Linked DNA regions of Homo sapiens: region 2 is linked to region 1. The links are contacts of gene promoters, found by promoter capture Hi-C in human tissues and cell types (Jung and others, 2019). All regions are on one chromosome and are shown on one strand. Each heading gives the region's core, a stretch centred on a gene start or on the middle of the fragment in contact. The rest is flanking DNA. Distances are from core to core; before and after follow the strand shown.

Region 1 (5,439 bases), core at 1,669-4,168:
TCTCTATTACCCAGGCTGGACTGCAGTGGTGTGGTAATAGCTCACTGAGGCCTTCAACTCCTAGGCTCAATGAATCCTCCCATTTCAGCCTCTGGAGTAGCTGGGACTATTGCCATGTACCACCATGCCTAATTTTTTAAAAATTTTTTCGTAGAGATGGGGGGTCTCACACTATGTTGTGCAGGCTGGTCTCAGACTCCTGGGCTCAAGCAATCCTCCTGCCTCAGCCACCCAAAGCACTGAGACTACAGGCATGAGCCACCATGCCTGGCCTAATTACCTCTTGAAGCCACATTCTATTTGGCCTCTAGACGAACTGATGTCAACTAGCTACACAATGGCATACAATCTATAGTTCAACATTGTACAGCCAATCATTAACCAACATTATTTCTTAAACCAATGAGAATTCATGACAAACAACCTTTTAAATCACCCTCTCTCCTGATTCGTCCTTTTTTCTTTAAAAAGTTGAGCTTCTCTTTCGTTCTCCAGAGCACTCCCCAAGGCAACTTGGATGTGTGTCCTGGACTGCAATGCTCACGTTGGCCCAAATAAACTCTTTATATTGATTTTACCTCAGCTTATTCCTTTTAAATAGACAGAGGACAATAAGGAGGTCAGTATGGCTGAAGCACAATGGAAGAGGAAGAGGCTAGTAGATGTGATTAGAGCCCACAGGGGCTGGAGGTGATGGCGAAGGAGGAGGCAGGTCATTTAGGGGCTTTTCTATTGGAAGAACTTGGCTTTTACTCTGAGTGAAATGGAAATCCCTTAGAGGGTTTTGGGCAGAGTTAAATGTTGAAATATTTTTTAAACGATCTAAAACGTAAGGAAGCAAGAGCAGAGGCCAAAAGACCAATCAGGAATATATTACAATATTCCAGGCAAGAAGTATGAATATTATAGGGAATGTTTTTCTGGGAATGTTACATTTGAGAATAAGAAAACTAAAGGCCAGGTTTTTTTGTTTGTTTGTTTGAGACAGAGTCTCCCTCTGTTGCCCAGGCTGGAATGCAGTGGTATGATCTCAGCTCAGTGCAACGTGTGCCTTCCAGGTTCAAGCAATTCCCTTGTCTCAGCCTCCCAAATGGCTGGGACTACAGGCACCCGCCACCATGCCTGGCTAATTTTTAGTAGAAAGGGGGTTTTGCCATGTTGGCCAGACTGATCTTGAACTCCTGACCTCAAGTGATCTGCCCGCCTCGGCCTCCCAAAGTGCTGGGATTACAGGCATGAGCCACCGTGTCTGGCCTAAAGATCAGGATTTTGGTGCATAACAAGTACATTTTACTATCCTGTGCTCCTCAAGGGAAAATTAAGAGATTTTTGCCCTGTTAGCTTAAGGAGTGTTAAACATTTTGCATTGTCTTGAGCACTGCTACTAATAAGTGATCTAATACCTGGCACATAGTACACCGCAATATTCGTGGAATGAATAAATACATACTCAATTAAATGGGTAAACTGAATGACAATATCAAGTAACTTGCTTGTGCAGCAGCATTCATTTCCCTCCCTCCTTTTTTTTTTTTTTTTTTTTTTTTTTTGATACAGGGTATCATTCTGCCACCCAGGCTGGAGTGCAGTGGTGTGATCACAGCTCACTGCAGCCTCGACCTCCTGGGCTCAAGTAATCCTCCTGCCTTGGCCACCCAAAGTGCTGGGATTACAGGCATGAGCCACCATGCCCCACCAGGATTCACTTTTTCTGCATACTCTGGTGGTGTTTATTGTTATCTTTACATTTTATTTAGCAAAGAATGTTAAAAGCGCCATGTTATAAGCACACTCCTACCCTCCAAGCAGAATGTAAAGGGTATGTATTTATATATTTTAAGTGGTCCCACAGCAATTTGTACAGTTATAGCAGTTCACAACTATACTCAGTTATGTTTGCTTCTCTCCTTCTCAATAGTCTGTGAGGTTCCTTCAGGTTTGGAACTGTCTTTTATTAATCTTTACATCTCCAGCACCTAGCGCAGGGCTTAGCAACAATTTTTGTTGAAAGTATATACACTGTAATAAAGGGCAGTGGAAAGAAAATATGTGAGTTATCAACACCAGCTAGAGAAGCCTTGTCTGATTCCTGTGAAATATATTCATTTCCCTTAGGAAAAAAAACAATTCTAACCCTATTGCTGTGTAACTTAGCTTCTTGACTTCGAACGGTATTTTAAGGCTTTGAGGAGCTGGAGCAATGTATACTCACTAGAGGCAAAGTGCCTGGTAAGTGGTCTGGTATTGATCAGCAATGATCAGTAAGTACTGGGAAGTGCGTTTTCAGGGCCTGAGACTTGCAAGCTAGTGACAGACCGCTCCAGCTTCCAGTGGACCCGGGCGGGGGCACTGATCAACCCACTTGAGCAGTGGGATCAAGGTCTTCAGCCTTAGCAGTGGGAGCCTCTGCCCGGCCCCCTTCGTTCCCGAGACCCTCAGTCAGCGTCTCCTCCCAAGAGGGTCCCCTCCACCCAGAATGTCCTCCCCTGGGGGAGACCACTCTGTCTGCGGGCCCCCTCCCACAGGAGGGCCCCTCTTCCTCAAGGTGAACCTCTGTCCCCGATACCCGCTCCCAAGACCGAGACCTTGTTACGGCCCCACCCTCCACAGGCCCCTTACCCCCCGGATCCCCTCCCCTGGGGGAGACCCCTCTGTCCGCGGGCACCCTCCTATAGGACGCGCCCCTCTTTCTCAGGGTGAACCTCTGGTTCCCGATACCCGCTCCCAAGACCGAGACCCTGTTACGGCCACATCAACACAGGTCCCCCTCCCCCCGGCGTCCCCTCCCCTCGGAGGAGCCCCGTCTGCGACGCTTCCCAGTCAATCACCCCCAGCATCCCTCCCCGCTCTCACCCAGAACTTCCGCCGCGCCCCCTCCCCTCAGGCGGGACTTCCGCCGGCGCCCCCTCCCCCGCGGCGCCGTCTCCTCCTCCCGCCTGAGGCGAGTCTGGGCTCAGCCTAGAGCTCTCCGGCGGCGGCGCAGCTTCAGGGCAGCGCGGGCTGCAGCGGCGGCGGCGGTTAGGGCTGTGTAGGGCGAGGCCTCCCCCTTCCTCCTCGCCATCCTACTCCTCCCTCCTCGTCATCCTCCCCCTTCGTCCTCCTCGCCTTCCTCCTCCTCGTCAGGCTCGACCCAGCTGTGAGCGGCAAGATGGCGGCGCCCAGGCCGCCGCCTGCCAGGCTGTCGGGCGTCATGGTGCCGGCGCCCATCCAAGACCTGGAGGCCCTGCGCGCGCTCACGGCGCTCTTCAAAGAGCAGCGGAACCGGTAACGGGTCCGGCCGGGGGGCTGCCCCGGGCAGGGGAGGGCGGCCGGGACTCCCGCGGCGGCCCCGGCCTGGACCCAGGCGCCGCCCCCGCCTCGCTGGAGACGCGGAGGGCGAGGCCTGCGCGGGCTGCCTGAGCGCCACCCAGGCCTCCCGACTCCCAGGCACCGCCTCGTGCTCGTGGGTCCCCGCGGGGCCTGGGGCGGGCGCCCCGCTCCCCCACCGCAGCCAGTCCGGGTGCGAAGCCGCGATCCCGGGAGCCCTTGCCGCGGCGTGCCGGTGATGTTGACCCAACACACGGTTAGGCCTCCCCTGTCATGTGCGAGGGCTGCGCCAGGCCCTGGCTGCAAGACCCACGCGGCCCCCAGAGTCATAAAGCGTGTGTTTTAGCGGGAGAGACCCGTGTTACGGACGCGGGAATTGGGCAGTTGCGGGGATGGCAGTCTCTAGGCATGGAGTGGGACTGGCACTCCTTTCTCCTCGGCGTTAGAGCCCAGGCTGCACCATCTGCCCTGGGGGCAGCGCTCTGTGCAGTGTGGAAGAGCACGGGCCTGGAGAGACCAGTCCAGTCCTGATGCCACTGAGGGGCAAGATAGCCAGGCAAAAAGAGAAGGTGCCCAGGAGTCGACAGTTGTGGATTTGGTTCCTGGCCTTGCAAGCTGCGTGTTACTGTGCAGTTTCTCCAGGCCTTAGAATTCTTGTCTAAAAATGGGACTATAATACACAGCTTAGTTGCTGGATTGTACAGAGGAATAAATGAAATAAAGTACGTGAAAATATAAAATGTGCGAAGCCCTCAGTCAATGCTTGTTTGATCTTGTTCTGTCCTCTGGGCCTCAGTTTTCTTGTCTATTTAATGGGAGTAAAGTTGAACAGTACCTCCCTGGTGATAGTGTCATAAGGAGTAAATGAGATATAATGCATATTAAATCCTTAGGACATACCTGTACATAGCACTAAATGTAGCTGATATTATCACTTAACACATTGATTGGTAGTTACCCATGTATCAGCTATTGTGCTAGGTGATGGGGTAGGAAAATGGAAAGTCCTTGCTCTCTCCTGTACTAGTATGTACAAGATAACACAGCTGTGGGGGTATGTATGTACAAAGCAGAGGGAACATTGAAGAAAGAAATACTGAGACTTGGGTCAGCCTAGGTGATCACTAGAGGACTTCCTCTCTTTAAACTAGACACCTGGTCTGAGCACTTCCTTTACCTCACATCACTTTGGGAAATGTGGAGCTGCTGAAGGAATGCTATTAATAAAAGTCCCTGGTACTGCTCTATGGGCCTTTGGGGGAGATGTATTTATTGATTTAATGCTTAGGCATTTCTGTATCATGATGGACCCTCCTTTTAGTTAATAACCCAGTCATCAACCATTTATTGAGCACCTACTATGAAACAGATTTTTTTGTTGGGGTCTGAGGGTACAGAGAGGAATGATGTGAGTGATCCCTTTTATCAGGCATATTTGGGAAATAGCTAAATAAACACATTGTAATGGAAATCTATACAAGAGGTGGTGGCACAGGGGAGCATGTGGATATGTTGGAAGATTGGCGAGCCAGGAGAGGCTTTTTAAGGTTATTTCAGGTGCTCGGTTATAGATGAGAGGACTAGAGGGAACAGTGTCTGCAAAGGGGCCATATGTTAATTTTGCAAAACCGATGAGACAATTAAGTAACATAGATAAGGTTTCTCGTACAGAAGAGACATTTAGTCAGACATCAGTTCCCTTTTTATAACTTGGAGAAAATCCAAGCCCCTGAGCCAGTTTAGAAGGCCCTTCTTGACTCTATCTCTTGTGAGGGAAGAAGTTACAGAGAACCATTGATGGTTTTTGTCAAGGGAGTGGCGCGATAAGATCTGCCTGTTAGATCTTCCTGGCCGCCTCCGCCTCCATTGTGGGGAATAAATGAGAGGACGAAGCTAGAGACAGGGGGGACCTTTAAGGAGTGGTAGCGGAAGCCCATGTGAAAGAGAAAAGTGCCTAAATTAGGACATTGTGGGGATGAGTAGAATAAATACTGAGAGATACAAGGTTGAATGGACAGGACTCGGACCAGTTGGATTGTGGGGGGGAGAATGAGGAAATGAGGATGCTTCCCAGATTTCATCTGAGTTCTGGGACAGTGTCCTTGTTCCAGGCAGAGATTGGAGACCAGGAAA
Region 2 (5,307 bases), core at 2,395-4,894, 270 kb before region 1:
TCCTGGGCTCAAGTGTTTATCTTATTATTCATAAGGTAATCATTTTTTCCTCTCATAAACACTTAAAGATACATGTGGCTTTGAGGAGACATGATCACTTAATTGACAAGAAGGAAACTGATTACTTAAGGTGCTTTAAAATGTTCAGTGATGAATTAATCTCTAACTTATTATACAAGATTTAATTATAATAAATCACTAGATGGCAAAAACATGTAATCGACAAACAACCACATTTTTATCGTTTATCTCTTTTATCAATTTTATGATAATCTTATATCACAAATATACCAAATACCAAAACAATTATGACTATATATACCAAAATAATTATAACTATATAAGTAGAAAAAAATATATCATTTTCTCTGGATTCTCCTTTCTCTTTTAAGATTTTTGGACAGAGACCTTAGTATAGAGGTTTTTGTTGCTCTATTTTAAACAGTCTTTTAGGCCAGGCACAGTGGATCATGCCTGTAATCCCAGCACTTTGGGAAGCCGAGGCAAGAGGATCACTTGAGCCCAGGAGTTTGAGACCAGCCTAGGCAACACAGTGTGACCTCATCTCTACAAAAAATTTAAAAATTAGACAGGTGTGGTAGCATGCGCCTGTAGACGGGAGGATCAATTGAGCCCAGGAGTGACACTGCAGTGAACTATGATTGATAGCAGCAGGAGACAGACAAATCCTAGACAGACAGGGGTGGGTCCCCAGTGAAACCTGACCTTCAAGCCAAAGACAGTTTAAAGCCTAGCTACAAGTGCTGGGTAAATCCACAGACAAGACTGAGAAACTCTCTTGCTGTTTGGTGTGCTTACCTCTGATTGATCCCTACCCTTCACCTATTTTACATACACCTACCCTTCCCTAATTGGTTTTTCACATTGTTGTACCCACTTTAGGGTGGTGCCGTTGTTTTAGCCTTTTTTTGCATACTCACAAACCAATCAGCACACATTCCTCCATTCTGAGTCCATAAAAGCCCCAGACCCAGCTACACTGGGGGAGAAACCACCTGACTTCAGGTAGTGGATGACCTCTTGCATCCCCTCTCTGCTGAGAGCTGTTTCATAGCTCAATAAAATTCTTCTTTGCCTTCCTCACTCTTCGATTGCCAGTGTAGCTTCATTCTTCTTAGACACAGGACAAGAACTGAGGACCCACTGAACGTGGGTACACAGAAGGCTGAAACACTGTGGCCCTCTGCCCTCTGCTGGCAGAGGGCAGCTGCCCCACATGACAGGAAGCAGTGGTGGGGCCGAGCAAGCCCCAGAGCTGAGGGCCAGAGTGGGTCAAGAGGCTGACAGAGCTGTTAACATGCCTTCGGACGTGCATCCTTCAGGCTGCAGACAGGACTAAAGAGCTGATTAGCACACTGTAACACCCCCTCTGGGGCTTTGGGGTCAGGAGCACCCTTGCCTGGGTGCCACTGTGTTCCCCTCATCTGGGCGCCAGAGCCCACTGTGGAAGTGGCTTGCAACACACCTGGTCCAGCTCCAAGCACCACATGAAGCCTGCTTCTGTGCCGGTACTTGGAACAGCTGGCTGGAAACTAAACTTGCTCGCTCACACACCCTCTTCTGCTGGGGGCTGAGTGAGCAGTCGTGGCAGCTGTGGGATTCGCGCCAGAGTGCAGGCCAGGTGCGGCCTGGCAGGCTGACAGGGTGTCTCCTGCAGTGAACGTGGGACCAAGCAAGGCCTGAGCAAGGGCGTCACCAACTGAGGGTCTCTGGCTGACAAAGTGACTGAGAAAAATCCTGCATCGGCCGGGCATGGTGGCTCACGCCTGTAATCCCCGTACTTTGGGAGGCCAAGGCAGGTGGATCACCAGAGGTCGGGAGTTTGAGACCAGCCTGACCAACATGGAGAAACCCCGTCTCTACTAAAAATACAAAATCAGCCAGGCATGGTGGCGCATGCCTGTAATCCCAGCTACTCAGGAGGCTGAGGCAGGAGAATCGCTTGAACCCATAAGGCGGAGGTTGCAGTGAGCCAAGACCACACCATTACACTCCAACCTGGGCAATAAGAGCGAAACTCCATCTCAAAAACAAACAAAAAAAAATCCTGCATCATGATTATGCCACTGCACTCCAGCCTGAGTGACAGAGCGAGACCCTCTCTCTACAAAATTAAAATTAAAAATAAATAAATCTAGTTCTGTATACAGGCTGAAAAATTTAAATCCCCACAATTTACATTGAGGATAATCTCTTAAAATATCAGAGAGGTCATCTTTTAAATTTTTTTCTAATTCAAAGCAGCTGAAATAATAGAAACACAAGATTTCCCCTAAGTTGTCCTTTTTTACCTGACTGGCTTCCAGTTCAATGTCTCGCTTTTTATGTAAAATTTCTTCCTCAATCTGCTTTTCAAAACTTCTCCATGCAGCATCTAAATCAGCCAGCTCTGTCTCCAGGGCTTTTATATCATCTTCCTGTTTAGAACATTGTTTTTCGCTGTCCTTTATTGATTTCTTAGCCACATCTAATTTCTTAAGGTGGTGAGAAGTGTTTTCTTTGGCTTTAATGTACTGAGGCCTCTTCTGATTTAAAAGGGTTTCAACCGATCTGAAAAGGGAAAAATGTTTGCTTTAAAGAAAATTTCATTTCTTTAATATATAAAGGGAAGAAGTTGTTTTGATCAAACCACTTTAAAAAAGAAATCCTAAAAATCAACTTTCAGAGACTGTAAGCAGATCAATGGTTGCCAAAGGTTGAGCAAGGTCAGGGGGAGGGATGAATAAAGCACACGGTCACTTTTGAGAGTGGTACTGTAGTGGTAGACACTTGACACTATGAATTTGCCAAAACCTGTATTACTTTACAGCACCAAGGATGAACCTTAATGTAAGCAAATTAAAAAAGAATCACTCAGGAGGCTAAGGGATCCTATATGGAATGTAGAATGCAATAAAAAATCTAACTTTATTATAAATGTAGAAACAGCCTTACTGAAGGGGTGGAAGGAAAACATGCTGACCTAATTCTAGAAATGAGTGGAGTCTGTAAGACTAAAAGCAAAAGAATTGTATATAAGTACTATACTGTAGTTACAAAGATGCTTTCCATGGGGGTACGGGTTAACAATTCTGACGCTATTACACGTGATTACTGGAAATGCACAATTAAGCAAATGGATGGCAGATGGTAGAAGCCAGATTTCCCATTGTTGAAGTGGGAGGTTACAGATAAGCAAGAGAAGGCTAGAATGATTAATGTGGTAATGGCTTAGAATTGGGAGACATCAATATGAACTCATGTTTAGCTTAATATAGATGGTCACATATGAAAATATTTATAGCTATGTGTATAAATAGTATACACAGGTATTTCCTAGTTCCAACAGCTGAGAAAGCCTAGAAGCAAGGACACTCCAGTAGCAACGAACACACCTACCACCTAGATGTTGGTTCCTAATACTGTTCTCCGATAAAAGGAACCAGGGTTCCTTGGAGAGCCTGGGGCAGGCTCATACAAGCTGGGGCAAGCTGATGCTTGGACTGGCTTATACAAGATGACAGTAGAAGATACTTATCTTCTAGAAAGTAAGGAAGAGCTCCAAAAAAAAATCACAGTAATGAGAATATTTCAAAGGGACACAGGAGCCAACTCAAAGAGTTCTCAGTGGCCACAGCAGGAACAATCTAAGCAACAAAATCAACAATGTAATACTGGATTATAACTCTAAATGTAAAATATCCATAAATCTATACTGATGTAAACAAATAACAATTAATTTAATTTTAAAATAATTAAGTAGAGACAAATCTGTGCAGAATTCCAAAAAAATCATGTAGATACTTTGCCCTCAAGGTAAAACATAACTCTCCTTACTCCTTAAGTGTGGGCTAAGCATAGTGACTTCCTCTCAAAGATTATAGTATGAAAAGGGAGAAAAAATAACCTCACAGAGGAGAAACATGACAAAAACTACTTCAGTCAGGTGATCAAGGTCAACATCAACAGTGATACCATGTTGATATGACACATGATATAGTACATGATAAATGTCATGTAACATATATAATACACTGACACTCTGATAGAATATAATGAGAAGGACATTTTACTTCTGTGGGCTTCCTCCCCACAGTCTGTATCTTCAGTCTAATTATGTGAAAACCATCAGACAAATCCGGATTGAAAGATGTTCTATAAAAAAACTGACCAATATTCCTCAAAATTGTCAAGTTCATCAAAAACAAGAACTGTCACAGCTAAAAGGTGCCTAAGGAGACATATAACTAAATGTAATATGGTATTCTGGATCATAAAAAGGACATTAGGCAAAAGCTGAGAAAATATGTATAAAGTATGGACTTTAGTTAATGTATCAATATTAGTTTATTAATTCTGACAATGTATCATAATAATGTAAGATATTAATAATAGGAGAAACTGAGTGTTGGGAATATGGGACTGATACAGGGGCTAAAAATAAATTATTTAGGCAGATAGTGAAGGTTAAGAGAGTCCTCAGCAGAGCTTCCCTTTTAACGAAAAGCAGCCCCAAAATCATTTCTTTTCTAACAAAGAGGAGCCTGAAAAATTAGGCTACAAATGGGGTACATAAGCAAGCTGGAAGCTTACACGAGTGAATGCCGGCAGCTGAGCCAATAGAAAAGGGGTACTCAGAAGCCAGCTATGTTCAACATGAAGGCTCCATCTTCCCTTTTCTTTGTCACCACGTGTACAGTAGAAAAGCTGGCAAACATGGCGCCAGCCAGGTACAGAATCTGCATAATAAAAAATTAGGGTGGGATGGCCAGCTTCTTTGTGCACTATGCAAATGGCACATCTAGTCCTAAGCGGTTCTTCACGTGCTATGCAAATGGAATACCTGATCTGAACAACCCTTCATGCCCTAAATCAGACACCGCCTCCTCAAGCTCATCTATAAAACCGCCTGTACTTCACTGTGGACCAGAAGACCCAATTGGGAGCCCCTCTCTCTGCATGAGAAAGCTTTTCTCTTTCTTTCACCTATTAAACCCACTCTTAACCTCACTCCTTGTGTGTCTGCATCCTTGATTTCCTTGCTGTGAGGCAATGAACCTCGGGTATTACCCCAAACACCACCACTTCAGGACCATTCTACACCACCTTTTTTTTTTTTGAGATGGAGTCTCACGCTGTTGCCCAGGCTGGAGTGTAGTGGCGTGATCTCGGCTCACTGCAAGCTCCACCTCCCAGGTTCATGCCATTCTCCTGCCTCAGCCTCCCGAGTAGGTGGGACTACAGGTGCCTGCCACCATGCCCAGCTAATTTTTTGTATTTTTAGTAGAGACGGGGTTTCACCGTGTT

Evidence for each region. The method cuts DNA at HindIII sites, captures the fragments that hold promoters and counts their contacts. A contact is called where the count stands out against the background at its distance.
Region 2: a contact is called between a fragment that was not itself captured here and the fragment with the promoter of ATXN10 in region 1, in 2 of the 25 tissues and cell types used here (IMR-90 fibroblasts and aorta).

The regions. Positions count from the first base shown.
Region 1 is chr22:45,668,916-45,674,354 of GRCh38, forward strand. It overlaps ATXN10 (ataxin 10), which reads left to right and starts at 2,919. Exons shown (of 12, transcript NM_013236.4): 1 at 2,919-3,264. The coding sequence starts at 3,149. RefSeq lists silencers at 2,592-2,781, 2,842-2,891, 3,222-3,551. The HindIII fragment of the contact is 16,564 bases long and covers 1-5,439 here.
Region 2 is chr22:45,396,783-45,402,089 of GRCh38, forward strand. It overlaps SMC1B (structural maintenance of chromosomes 1B), which reads right to left. Exons shown (of 25, transcript NM_148674.5): 6 at 2,313-2,571. Among named protein-coding and RNA genes, the nearest start is that of SMC1B, 14 kb to the right of the region's middle. The HindIII fragment of the contact is 7,606 bases long and covers 1-5,307 here.